Regions from separate parts of the Homo sapiens genome. Here region 2 is linked to region 1. The links are contacts of gene promoters, found by promoter capture Hi-C in human tissues and cell types (Jung and others, 2019). All regions are on one chromosome and are shown on one strand. The core of a region is centred on a gene start or on the middle of the fragment in contact, and the rest is flanking DNA. Distances in the headings are between cores, read along the strand shown.

Region 1 (6,130 bases), core at 195-2,694:
AAGGGTGGCGTTGGGGGGGCGGGTGCTGGGCTGCATGGGGAGAAGGGAAAAGTAGGATCCGCTTCACTGTGAAGTGAGTCCCACCACCAACTCCAGCAATCCCTGCCCACAAGTAGGATGGCGGGTCCCTGGGAAGGGAGCACGCCATGTCCTGTGCCAGTCAGGGAGCTCAGGGCACTGTGATATAGCTGAAGTGCTGAGTAGAATTCGGGGTGCAGAGCTGCGGGTGGCTGGTGGGGTGCTGGGGCGCGCAAGGAGGCTGGAGGCGGGGGTGGGGGGGTGCCCAGCCCCAAGTCCTACAGCGGCTGCTGGAGGAGTGAGATGAGCACATAGTGAGTGGCTGTGCTGGTGGAATTAGACAGAGGTGCCCCAAGTCAGGAACCTAGAGCCCTGAGCGCTCCATGGGGAAGGAGAACAGCCCCCACGGTGAAGGGGTGAGGGCGGTGTGTAGGCACACACAGAATCTTCCAGCTGGAAGAGACCTTCAATGTCATTTCATTCAACCTCCCACCTCATGAAATCTTTCAGTCTTCCAGTGCCCAACTGAGGACACCCAACTCTACTTGGACACCTCAAGGTACGGGGAACTCACTCCCTTCAAGGCAGCTCATCTCAGAGAGGCTTTGGAGCCTGCGGGACGGCCAGGAGGAGCCTGGCGCTCCGACCTTGGCCCTGTAGAGCAGAGTGGCCTCTACTCCGCGGCGGCACCTGGCTGGGGGTTGCGGCGCGGTTGGGCCAGCGCTGCTGTCCCCAGCCCCAGTGCTGAGGCAGGCAGAGCGCAGTGGGCTCTGGCGGAGGTCGGGAGAACTGCAGGGCGAAGGCCGCCGGGGGCTCCGCGGGCTGCGGGGGGAGGCACTTGACACCGGCCCGGGGAGAGGAGGGGCCGCTGTCCCTGCGGCCAGTGCTGGATGCGGGGACCCAGCGCAGAAGCAGCGCCAGGTAGCGGGGCGCCCAGCGTGGGGAGGGCTGCGGCGAGGCCCGGAGCTCGGCTACGACTCGAGGGGCTCTGAGTGGCCGGGAGCGCGGCCGAGGCGGGGCGCCCGGGGCCCGGCCCCCGGTCTGGGCGGTGCGGGGTCCAGACCTCCGCCAAGCGGCGTGCGGGGACCCCGGCGGGGCCGCAGAGGCCGGGAAGTCGCGCCGAGGGCGCTAGGACCGGCCGCGCGCCCAGGCCGCTCCCGCCGCGGCGCCCCGGGGCCCCCCAGTCGGCGCTGCCTCCCGGGCCGGCTCCGCAGCGCCGGGGCCGGGGCCAGCGCGGCCGCGGGGGGCGAGCGGCGGGCGGAGGCCTGGGCCCGCGGGCGGCCGGAGGGAGGGAAGGAGGAAGGCGGAGAGAAGGGGTGGGAGGGGGGGACCCGGCGGAGGAGGCGGAGAGAGGGAGCGCGACAGCGAGCGGAGGGAGGGAGCGAGCGAGCGAGGCAGGCAGGCGGGCCGGGAGGGAGGGAGGGCGCGCGGGCGGCGGCGGCGGCGAGAGCAGAGGACGAGCCGGGACGCGGCGCCGCGGCACCAGGGCGCGCAGCCGGGCCGGCCCGACCCCACCGGCCATACGGTAATGAGCGCCGCTGCTGGCGGCCCGGAAGGCCGGCCCGGAGGCGGCGGGGAGCCGGGGAGCCGGGCGGGGGGCGCCGCGGCTGGCAGTGCCCGGCTCGGGGCACGCTCCCGGACCCCTGCAACTCGGCGCCGGGCGCCCGTGGGGCCGGGACTGCAGGCGGGGACGGCGGGCCGGGCTGGCCGGGGCGGCGCGGGGGATTTGAGGGTTTGTTTATGTCCCCGCGGGCTCGGCAGGCGCCCCCTCCCGTCCCGCCCGCTCCCGGCGCGGACCCCCCTCCCCGCCCCCGCCCGGCTCCGGGCTCAAGTTCAAGTCTATACAATGCCGCGGGGGGCCCCTCCACCGCCGGCCTGCGCCGCGGTGCCCGGCTCGCCGCTGCCGCAGGGGCCCCGGCCGGGCCGCCCCCGCCTTCCGGGCTCTGCCCCAGCCCCGCGGCCCCGCCTGGAGCCCGCGGCCAGGGCGCCGGAGGGCGCGGACCCCGACCCAGAAGGATCGGCCCCCGCGGCGGCCCGGGGGAGCGGGGGAGGGGGCGGGGGCCGGGCCCCGCGCAGGCTCCGCGGCGGCGGCAGAAAATGGCAGCCTGGCACGACCCGGCCCCCCGCCCCTCCCCCCGGCGCCCGGCCCTCCTCGGCCCCGCGGGGCGGGGGACCCGGGAGGCCCCCGGGGGCGGGCCGAGGGGTGATGGCGGGGCCGGGCCGGGGAGCGCCGCGCCGCGATCCTCCTCCGGCCACCTGTGGCTGGGGGTGCGGGGCGCCGGCGGGGCCGGGAGGGGCGGCGGGGCCGGGGAGAGCGCCCGCCTTGGGGGCACACCTTCCCCCGGAGTGCCGGCGGCACGGAGAGGGGTGGTCGTGCCCGGCTCCTCCCTGTCCCCACCGCGGGCCGTGGGTGCCCGGGCGGCCGCGGTGGCGGCGCCGCAATGTGGGGGCGGGGCGGGGGCGGGCGAGGATCCCGGGCCCGGGCCCGGGCCGCGGGGGCCGGAAAACGCGGGGGTGGAAGTAGCGGGGCCGGGACCGGGAGCGGCGCAGGGGGGGTACGCCCGGGGTCGCCCCTCCAGCACCCCCGCGCACACTCCCACGCACGCGGACACACTCACGCACACGCACCCCGCCGGGCCGGTGCAGACGTGTCCTTGAAAGCTTCGCATCTGCACAGTGAAGGACGAGGCCTCGCCGCGGCTGCGGAGCGGGGTCTTCGGCCCCACGTCCCCGCACCCCGGGAGACCTCGAGCTTCGGAGCCGCAGGCGGCGGCTGTCCGTGTCCCGCCCTCACCCCAGTTCCCCTCCCCCAGGCCGCCCTGCCTTCCCTCCCCTTCGGCGCGGACCGGGCTGGCGCGGGTCCAGGGCCCGCCCCTGGCCTCCCCCAGCCCCTCATCGCTGGGGCCCGCGGCCCTGGGGCTGCCAAACTGCTTTTCGCTTTCCTGAAGCCTCCCTTCTTGGGGGCACCCTCTCCCACCCCAGCGCCCCTCTGCCATTTCTCCCCCTCTCCTCATCCCCTCCGTCCTGGCACCCTCTCTCCGCTGCACGGCCAGTTGAGGAGGTGTTGGCGCCCTGGGCGGGGAGCAGTGCCCTCTGGTTCCCAGGGGCTGCCTCCCCCGGCTCCTGAGGGGAGCCCCCTGCGGCTGCACCTTGACCCAACATGGCGTCTGGCACCCAGCAGGGCAGCTCTGGCCTGCGGCAGGCGGGAGGGTGGGCAGGGCCGAGCCCCAGGGCCGCGCAGCTACCCCCCCTCCAAACCAGCGGGGACAGAAGCCTTGGGGAGAAGCGCTGTCCGCCCTGTGACCCAACTTGCCCCTCACTGCCGTGCCCAGAGACTGCCATCAGCATCCCTGAGGGCCTGCTCAGTCTTCATGTTTCACCCTAGGCTGCCAGCGGCTGAACCCGCCTCCTGGGCGGGCGGCTACGAAGGGATCCTGGGATCAGGTGCTGCTCCAGTGTCGCCTCCTCCCTCGCGGGCAGATGTGACAGCTGCAGCCAGGGGAGCTATTCGCCTTGCTATTGCCTGGGTGTTAGGACTGGCCTGTGGGATTTGGGGGGCCAGGCATCCCGGGGACCCTCTTTGGTTGGCTAGCAGGGGCCATCTCCAGGTAGTTTTCTGAGCTGCCTGCCTTTGGAGAGTTGGGTTGTAGGGAGTTCCTGCTGGGTTTCTGGGGCAAAATGGTCCCCCTCTGCCTCCAGGTTCTACCGAGGCCCTGCTTGGGCTGTGACAGGTGGCTCTGTCAAGGTGGGAGTCTGTGTGTGCACATGTGCTGGCTCCAGGCGAGGGACCAGGCTGGCCTGTGCAGCAGCTCTGGCACCTGCCTGCCTCCCTGGTGGGTCCCCCTCCTCTGTGCAGCTCCTCCCCAGATAAGCAGCTGCGGATTCAGGCCGACCAAACTTCCCTCGTTACCCCACCCAGGCACCAGTGCCTTCCATAGGAGACTGACCCTAAGAAAGGTGAATTCCTTCTAGACTCAAGGAGTGGACTGGTCCACAGGGCTGCCCTCTGAGTCCTTCCTGGAGAAGCCTAGGAAAGGACGCCAGCAGCCATCTGTCAGGGTGTCTGCGGACAGGATTCCTCTGTGGGGTGGGGGTTGGACTAGAGCCGGAAGGTCCATTCCAGCTTTGACATTCTATGGCTCTGATTCTAGTGGTGGAATTTCAGGCCTAGCAATGGGGACAGGGTGGTCTGTTTTTCGGCACATGGCAGTAATAGGGGAAGGCTTCCAAGGAGAAGGAGATATGAGAGAGATCAGGGCGCCCAGCGAGTTGGGCCTTGGGAAGGAGAGGCAGTGTGAGGAGGGTCCCTGCAAGAGACGGGTTGGTCACGTCCGACTCTGCAGAGGGTGTAAAAAGTACAGCCTCCTTTAAGCCTCGGCACGTGTGTATCCTGTAGGTTTGTGTATAAATCCCTGTGTGTGGATAATTTCTGAGGTTTCCTTTTCAAGTCCAATTCACAGTAAGCTCCTCAGTCCCTTATGGATGTTTTACTATCGCTTTCACACCCACCTCTGCCAGTGGTTCTCAAAAAGCTAGGAAGACAGGACAAACGGTAAAATCCTTGTCCAGGGTCACCGGCAGGAAGAAGTGGAGCCAGGCCTGCACTCGGGGGAAGATGCCCCATGCTATACCTCTTACCTGGGCTGCTGCATGTGTCTGTCCCCGCTCTCAGTTTGTGATCTCCAGGAAACAGGGGCCTTGCCTCCCTGGGTCCCCATTGGACAAGCGGTGAGGCCTCCGAGGGTGTCTGCTGAGCGAGGGGAGCGCACTGCCCTCCAGTCCTCTCCCCGAGGCAGCGAGGCAGGTTAGTGCTGGGCTCCCTTCCCCCTGCTGCTGTGCGCCGCTGCCCAGCGGCCACTGCCTACTTACAGGCCAGCTCCTCAGGGTCACACCTCCCTGAAAGACCCAAGTTCTTTCCCAGCAAGAGCCAGACTCCCCCAAGGCTTCTCTTTTTGGGATCCAGGTAGAAAGAGGACTCTAATGGGTGAGTTAAAACAGACCACCCTCTCCCCATCTTTGGGCCCGAAATGTCAGCATTAGAACCCAAACCTTAGAATTGCAGTCTGAAAGAGGAGTTTAAGCTCTGAGAGCTCTTAGTGCTGGGTACGGGACTGTTTGTGGGAGGTGGTGCCCAGTTCTTCCCAGGGTTGTCCATGCTACCCAGAGCCTGAGGCCTGGAGGGCCATTCACGTGCCAGTCACATGCCTCTCCCAGGGTACTTCCTGCTGCCTCCAACTTGCTGGCCTGGGGTCCTGGACTTGGTGCTCGTATCCTCCCCACCCCGTGCCCCACTGGGAGTTGAGTGTGTCTCTGGCCTCCAGCAGGTAGGGCCAGAGCATCTACCCCAATGCCATTCCCCATGCTGCGGCCCTCGGGGAATAGCTTCTACTTTTGTTTGAATATTAGTATGTGAGCAGAGAGCCCGTCAGAAGCCCACCTGGCCTGAGGCTGGGTTTCTGCAGGGACTTTGCTGTTCCTGAGCAGGGCTTTAATGGTCTACTAAAGGTGCCAGATCCCTTTCCACTTTAATTTTGAGGGCTCATTTTCAATCATTTCTCTCTGACGATTTTTCCCTAAGAACATGACCAAATCTGAGATCCATGAAGTGTCAGCCTGAGATTTATGTCTGTATCCGAGCCTGCCTCCACTTGGCTAAGTGTGTGGGCAAGACGAGGTTCAGTGCACATGTGTCTGTGCATGATGTGTGTGTACGTGGTGTGCCGCCACCTGTGGATGGGTAGGACTTGCTTCCACATGAGCCAGTGTCAAGGCAGCTTGAGGCCCTCGAGTCACAGGGAGCTGCACTCTGACACCTCCCAGCGGCAGGAACTTGGGCAACAACTCGATTCCCTGGGCCTCAGTTTCCTCACCTGTAACATGGGAGTGTGCGTGGATTCTGCTTACAGGTGGTTGTGAGGATGGAGTGAGATCATGTGCGTTACAGCCTTAGAGGAGCGGGAGCCCTCCTGTTAGCTGTGTCTGTTTTCATCATTTGGGTGGCTCACGTGGACTAGCACTGCAGGAAGTGCTCTAAGAAGCCTCGTCCACCTTCCTGTGTCTTTTGCAGAATCTTGGTCAGATGAGGAAAGTGCCGATTCTGATTAAAAATCCT
Region 2 (6,800 bases), core at 1,246-3,745, 470 kb before region 1:
TATTTGCCCATAACCTTGTCAGCAATGGATTTTATCAATCCATTTTTTGTTATTGTTGTTGTTATTTGGAGATTAATTTTCACTGTTGTTGCCCAGGCTGGAGTGCAATGGCGCGGTCTCGGCTCACTGCAACTTCCACCTCCCAGTTTCAAGAGATTCTCCTGCCTCAGCCTTCCGAGTAGCTGGGATTACAGGCGCCCGCCACCATACCCAGCTAATTTTTTATATTTTTAGTAGAAATGGGGTTTCACCATGTTGGCCAGGCTGGTCTTTAATTCCTGACCTTCAGGTAATCCACCTGCCTCGGCTCCCAAAGTGCTGGGATTATAGACGCGAGCCACTGCGGCCAGCCTTTTTTTTTTTTTGAAATAATTATAGACTCACAGGAAATTGCAAAAATAGTACCTAGGGTCCCATGTACAGTTCATCCAGTTTCCTTTAATGGTAATATCTTATGTAAATATAGTACAATATCAGACCAGGCACAGTGGCTGACACCTGTAATCCCAGCACTTTGGGAGGCTGATGCGTGTGGATCACTTGAGGTCAGGAGGAGTTCAAGACCAGCCTAGCCAACATGGTGAAACCCCATCTACTAAAAATACAAAAATTAGCTGGGTGTGGTGGTGTGTGCCTCTAATCCCAGCTACTCAGGAGGCTGAGGCAGGAGAATCGCTTGAACCCGAGAGGCAGAGGTTACAGTAAGCCAAGATCGCACCACTGTACTCCAGCCTTGCTGACAGAGTGAGACTCCATCTCAAAAAAATATAAATAAATACAAATATAAATATAAATACATATTATATCAAACCAGGAAATTGACATTGGCATAAAACTGTTAACTATGGCTTGGGTCATTTTCTTTCTTTCCATCTGACCAATGGCATCTTGATTTAATTTGCCTTTTTATAACCACTATTAAGTTTGAGCTTCTTATTATACATTTTATTGGTAATTTACATTTATGGTTTATGAATCATTTGTTCACGTCCTTTTTTCCATTTTTTTCTAATGAGCTATTTGTTTTCCTAAAGAATATCTTCTTAGGACTATTAATCTTTTGTCTGCCGTATGTTTTGCAGTTAATTATTCTAGCTTCATATATTTTCTGTAGTTTTGTTGCTTTTATTTTTTTCCTGTGTAGAAATTTTTATTTTATACAGTCAATATGTTTCTTTGGTGGTTTTTGGGTTTTTCTCTTTTGTGGAAAGCTTTCTCTGTCTTCTAGGTTATACTGTTTTCTTTTGTTATTTATTTATTTATTTATTTATTTTTTAAGCCATGGTCTCACTCTGTTGCCCAGGCTAGAGTGCAGTGGTGTGATCATGGCTCACTGCAGCCTCAACTTCCTGGGCTCAGGTGATCTTCCCGCCTCAGCCTCCAAAGTAGCTGGTACTACAGGCGTGTGCCACAATGCATGGCTGATTTTGTGTGTGTGTGTGTGTGTGTGTGTGTGTGTGTGTGTGTGTGTGTATTTTTGTATTTTTTGTAGAGACAGGGGTTGCTCAGACTAGACTCAAGAGATCCACCCGCCTCAGCCTCCCAAAGTGCTTGGATTACAGGCATGAGCCACAGTGCCCAGAAGATTATACTGTTTTCTTTTAATCTTTTATATTTTGCCTTTGGCTTTTAATTCATTTGGAATATGTTTTTGTATATACTGTGTGCACATTCCCCCCAGATGTATGAGATATTCTAGCACTACTAAACTGTTTTATTTAGGACTTTTTCAGCTTCTTGTGACTTAAATCTCAACAAAATTCCAAAGGTAGTACTGGCTCAAGGCAAGACTTGATACACTGGTGAGAAGCAGCTGCAACGCTGAGCAGAGGAGGCAGGATCTGGAGTGTGAGCAGTAGCTGGGTGGGCACCATGGCTGGGATCACCACTATTGAGGCAGTGAAGCACAATATCCAGGTTCTGCAGCAGCAGGCAGATGATGCAGAGGAGAGAGCTGAGCACCTCCAGCGAGAAGCTGAAGGAGAAAGGCGCGCCTGGGAACAGGCTGAGGCTGAGGTGGCCTCCTTGAACCATAGGATCCAGCTGGTTGAAGAGGAGCTGGACTGTGCTCAGGAGCACGTGGCCACTGCCCTGCAAAAGCCGGAAGAAGCGGAAAAAGCTACTGATCAGAGTGAGAGAGATATGAAGGTTGTTAAAAACTGGACCTTAAAAGATGGAATTCCAGGAAATCCAACTCAAAGAAGCTAAACACACTGCAGAATAGGCAGATAGGAAGTATGAAGAGGTGGCTCGTAAGTTGGTGGTCATTGAAAGAGACTTGGAACTCACAGAGGAACGAGCTGAGCTGGCAGTGTCCCATTGCCGAGAGATGGATGAGCAGATGAGACTGATGGACCATAACCTGAAGTGTCTGAGTGATGCTGAAGAAAAGTACTCTCAAAAAGAAGACAAACGTGGAAGAGATCAAGATTCTTACTGATAAACTCAAGGAGGTAGAGACCTGTGCTGAGTTTGCTGAGAGATCGGTAGCCAAGCTGGAAAAGACAACTGATGACTTGGAAGATAAACTGAAAATGTACCAAAGAGGGGCACTCTGTACAAAGGATGCTGGACCAGACTCTGCTTGACCTGAATGAGATGTAGAGCACCTCAGTCTCACCCTGCTGCTGCTCCTCCCTCTGACCCTGATTCCATCTGAGGCCAGCCTACCCAAAGCTGACCTTTATAACTGGAAGGCTGCTTTCTCCTTTCGCTGCCCCCACCTCCCCTGTGTCTTTTTCGCTAAACTGTCTCTGCCTCTTCCCAGAGATTCCAGCTGGGCTAGAGGCTGTGCACCTTTGGGAACAACACTTAAGGGAATGTGAACACAATGCATAATGCCTTTAAAAGCATGTTGTGATGTACACATTTTGTAATACCTTTTTTGTTGTTTTATAGCAACCATTTGTAAAACATTCCAAATAATTCCACAGCTCTGAAGCAGCAATCTATTCCTTTTTCACTTTTGGAAGGTGACTTTTCAGCTTAATGCATATTGCCCTTTCCATAGAGAAGAGGAAAAGGTATAGGCCTGCCTTACTGAGAGCCAAACAGAGCCCAGGGAAAGAATCCATTATGGGAAATTTCACTGCTCTGTAAAAAGTACCCCCCAAACCAGAAAGGTGATTCCAGGAGGAGTTAGCCAAACAACAACAAAAACAAAACAAAAATGTGCTTTTCAGGTTTTCAGCTTTAAGATATCTTTGGACAATGTTATTTCTTTTTTTTTTTTCATTAGAAGTGACCAAATTAAAATGGTAAGACCTCTGAAACTAAATTTTTGTCCCAACTCTGCCCCCTCTCAACTGCCTGCAGAATGGATCATGTGCCCCTTATGTTGCAGTGACCACTTAATTGCTATCCTCCCTCCTTGAAAGATTATGTTTTGCCACTGATTTAGCCATGTGAAACTCATCTCATTATCCTTTTCTGGGTTTGAAGCTGCTCTCTCTAAAAGTGCTATCTCATTGTACTTTGTATCAGAGAAATCTTGAATAGCTTATGTACAAAACTTTTAAAGTTTTTTATTATTTTGAAGCTTTGCTTCTTTGGGTTTGTGGCACCCTGGCCACCCTGTCTGGCTGTGACAGCCTATACAGTGTGTGGGCTGGCAGTTTGCTGATCTTTTAAAGTTTCTTTCCCTACCCAATCCCCATTTTCTGGTAAGGTTTCAATGAGGTCTGTTAGGTGTACATCCTGCAGCTTATTGGCTTAAAATGTACACTCCTTTGATGTGGTCTCTTTGGGGCCAACTGGGAGAAAGACAAATCAATAGTGCAACTCTTTTGATACCAAATATTGACACAAGTGTCTTTTTGAAATAAAGAACAGGTCTCTCCAAAAAACAAAACAAAAAAGGCTTGATACAGGCAAAAGTAATACTACTTTAAAAATTTTGGCCAGGCGCAGTGGCTAACACCTGTAATCCGAGCACTCTGGGAGGCTGAGGTGGGCAGATCACCTGAGGTCAGGAGTTCGAGACCAGCCTGGCCAACATGGTGAAACTCCATCTCTACTGAAAATACAAAAATTACCAGGGTGTGGTGGCAGGCATCTGCAATCCCAGCTACATGGGAGGCTGAGCATGAGAATCTCTTGAACCCAGGAGATGAAGGTTGCAGTGAGCCAAGATTGCACCATTGCACTCCAGCCTGGGGGATAGAGTGAGACTCTGTCTCAAAAACAAAAACAAATTTGCTTCCTGACTTTTCTCAGTTCTGCCCTTTTTGGTGTTGGATTTCTCCTTACGATTCATACTGTGTCACTCCTCAGTCTGTCTTGTATGTTGTGCCATTCTAATTCCAGATTTTTCCTTTGTGGTCACACAATGACTGTGAATGTTTTAGGCCTTGCTTCCTAATACCACACAAGGGAAGAGAAAGGATCCCTTTCTGAAGATTCCGTGGAGAACAAGTTTTGGTTGTTTTTTTTCCCCCCCATATACCCAAGTAAATAGCTCCATAGATTTTTGGCCCTAAGTCATGTATCTGTTCTTTGGGGTGGAGAGTGTGTGTGTGTGTGTGTGTGTGTGTGTGTGTGTGTAAAAGCTGATTAATTTAAACCAATTAGGATTTACCCCCGGGCTGGGCATGGGATTCAGTCCCTCTCAACCACATGACTGAAAGTGAGAAAAGTTGTTTCACAGGAAATTTTTGGGTACTGTCTCCAAAGAAGAGGGAACAGAAGCCAGGTAGTCAAACTACAGGGGACTATGGCATGACCTCATGTTTTTCATACTAAACATAAATGATACCTTTTAAATTATTATCTGTTTCTGCATTTTCTGTTTTCTTCCACCAACAGTCTATGAGGGTATTCATTTGGTGATTTTTTTTCTCTCGGAAACATACTACTTCAATAATAGTGGCTAAGAGTACATGTTAATATCTTTTTAAGCAAGTCTCCCATCATTTTTTTTCTGGAAATTTCTTGGCAATTTTTATATATTTATTTGATACAAACTTTGGGATCCTGATTGGAATTACATTATATACATTTTTAACATGGAAATCCAAATCAGATAAACGTAGCTATGGAAATCAACTTGGAAATGCTCAATAGTTTCTTCTGCAAAAGGCTTTTCTTTCCTTTGTTATTATTCACCAATGTTTTGGGGGGATGAAAACCTTCTCTGTATTTTCGACCCTGGACACTTTCACAGTACCAAGAGACAGTGGACTCATGTCCCAGCTCTTCCCAGCAGATAACTCCTTAGATAGACTAAGAATCCAACAGCCTCTTCTAGTAGGCTTATTTTTGGTTATTGAGTAGCATCAACAGAAAACTGAGAGGGAAAAGAGCTGGAAATGTGGGGTTAAACTGCCTTAAACCTCAGGTATTGTGATCAGTTTTTAAAAACCATTTAAGGATGCCACACATCTCCAGAGACTTCAGACCACGGTTTCCATTTAATTGCTTCCATATGAACTATGTGTTTGCTTGCTACCTAATTTTTTTCTTATGTGAAGTATGATATTTTATCTAATGATTTTGTTATTTTCCTTAGATGTAGAAACATTGTCTTCAAGTATTATAGCACTATTTTAAAATATTTGGTTGGTGCAAAATTAACTGTGGTATAATTATTAATTATATTTTATATTTTTCTATAGATTATTATATACCTGAAATTCTAGTAAAGATGATAAATATATATTAGAATTAATAAACATTTAACCAAGTTGCTACATATAAATATTCAGAAGCCTACTTAATAACTTTTTAAGTGATCTCATGATAGGTTTGAATACAAGAGACAATGGCAATGTGTTAGTTTCACAATTAAGATTCAGTCTGGTGCAGCAGTATACAATGGAATTATTACTGTTTATTTGAATCTGTGTGTGTTTGTGTTCTTTTTTCTCATTTTACCTCTGGACATTTGTAAAGCTTGTGCTAAATAGAATGTTTACAAAATATGTTTGTAATACTTCTGTATTTTTCTTGACTTAAATGTTAGATACTGGATCAGCATTAAGGAATTACTATTTTGTAGATACATGGAAATGATTTTTACATCCATTTTCTCCATGGCAGCCCCTTTCTATATTGGTAGACTTCTTATAGTTTATAAGATATGTTTAAGTCAAAGGAGTATTGACTAATTAATTTTATTTTGAGTGTTACATAGGATATTCAGAGACAGAAATTAATTGTTGTGTTCCTTATCACATCTCTTCTTTGTTTTGCAGTGGGACTTCTCCTCTTGCATGCCTGAATGCAATGCTTCACACAAACTCCAGAGGTGAAGAGGGCATCTTCTATAAGGTTCCAGGTAGAATGGGAGTATATACTTTGAAGGTAAATATTTTGTTGGGGAGTCATTTAGAAAGAAAAAACAGGAAGTGACCACATATAAATATTTGACTCGTAGGGACAGAATTCTGTTCTTGAAGAGCTTATTTTCAGGAAGAGGTAATATTTTGAAACCTCTACCCAATACATTTTTTAAAAACTAATCTATAACTAACTATAGGTAGATCAGAGAAGTAACTTTATTTTTTATTCTTGATGATAATCTTATCTAGAAAGAACGAAATTAAAATGACTTATGGCCAGGCGTGGTGGCTCACGCCTGTAATCCCAACATTTTAGGAGGCCGAGGTGGGCAAATTGCCTGAGCTCAGGAGTTTGCGACCAGCCTGGGCAACACAGTGAAACCCCACCTCTACTAAAATGCAAAAAATTAGCCAGGGCGTAGCGGTGTGTGCCTGTAGTCCCAGCCACTCAGGAGGCTAAGGCAAGAGAATTGCTTGAACCCGGGAGGCGGAGGTTGCAGTGAGCCAAAATCACGCCACCGC

The links. Contacts are between HindIII fragments. The study calls those that stand out against the background at their distance.
Region 2: a contact is called between a fragment that was not itself captured here and the fragment with the promoter of DNMT3A in region 1, in 1 of the 25 tissues and cell types used here (spleen).

What each region holds. Positions count from the first base shown.
Region 1 is chr2:25,337,239-25,343,368 of GRCh38, reverse strand. It overlaps DNMT3A (DNA methyltransferase 3 alpha), which reads left to right and starts at 1,444. Exons shown (of 23, transcript NM_022552.5): 1 at 1,444-1,543. RefSeq lists an enhancer at 532-651 and silencers at 772-1,251, 1,312-1,521, 1,812-1,981, 2,082-2,321, 2,602-2,721. The HindIII fragment of the contact is 18,341 bases long and covers 1-5,624 here.
Region 2 is chr2:25,805,729-25,812,528 of GRCh38, reverse strand. ASXL2 (ASXL transcriptional regulator 2) reads left to right here. Exons shown (of 13, transcript NM_018263.6): 4 at 6,192-6,300. It also overlaps the pseudogene TPM3P7. Among named protein-coding and RNA genes, the nearest start is that of ASXL2, 69 kb to the left of the region's middle. The HindIII fragment of the contact is 4,439 bases long and covers 276-4,714 here.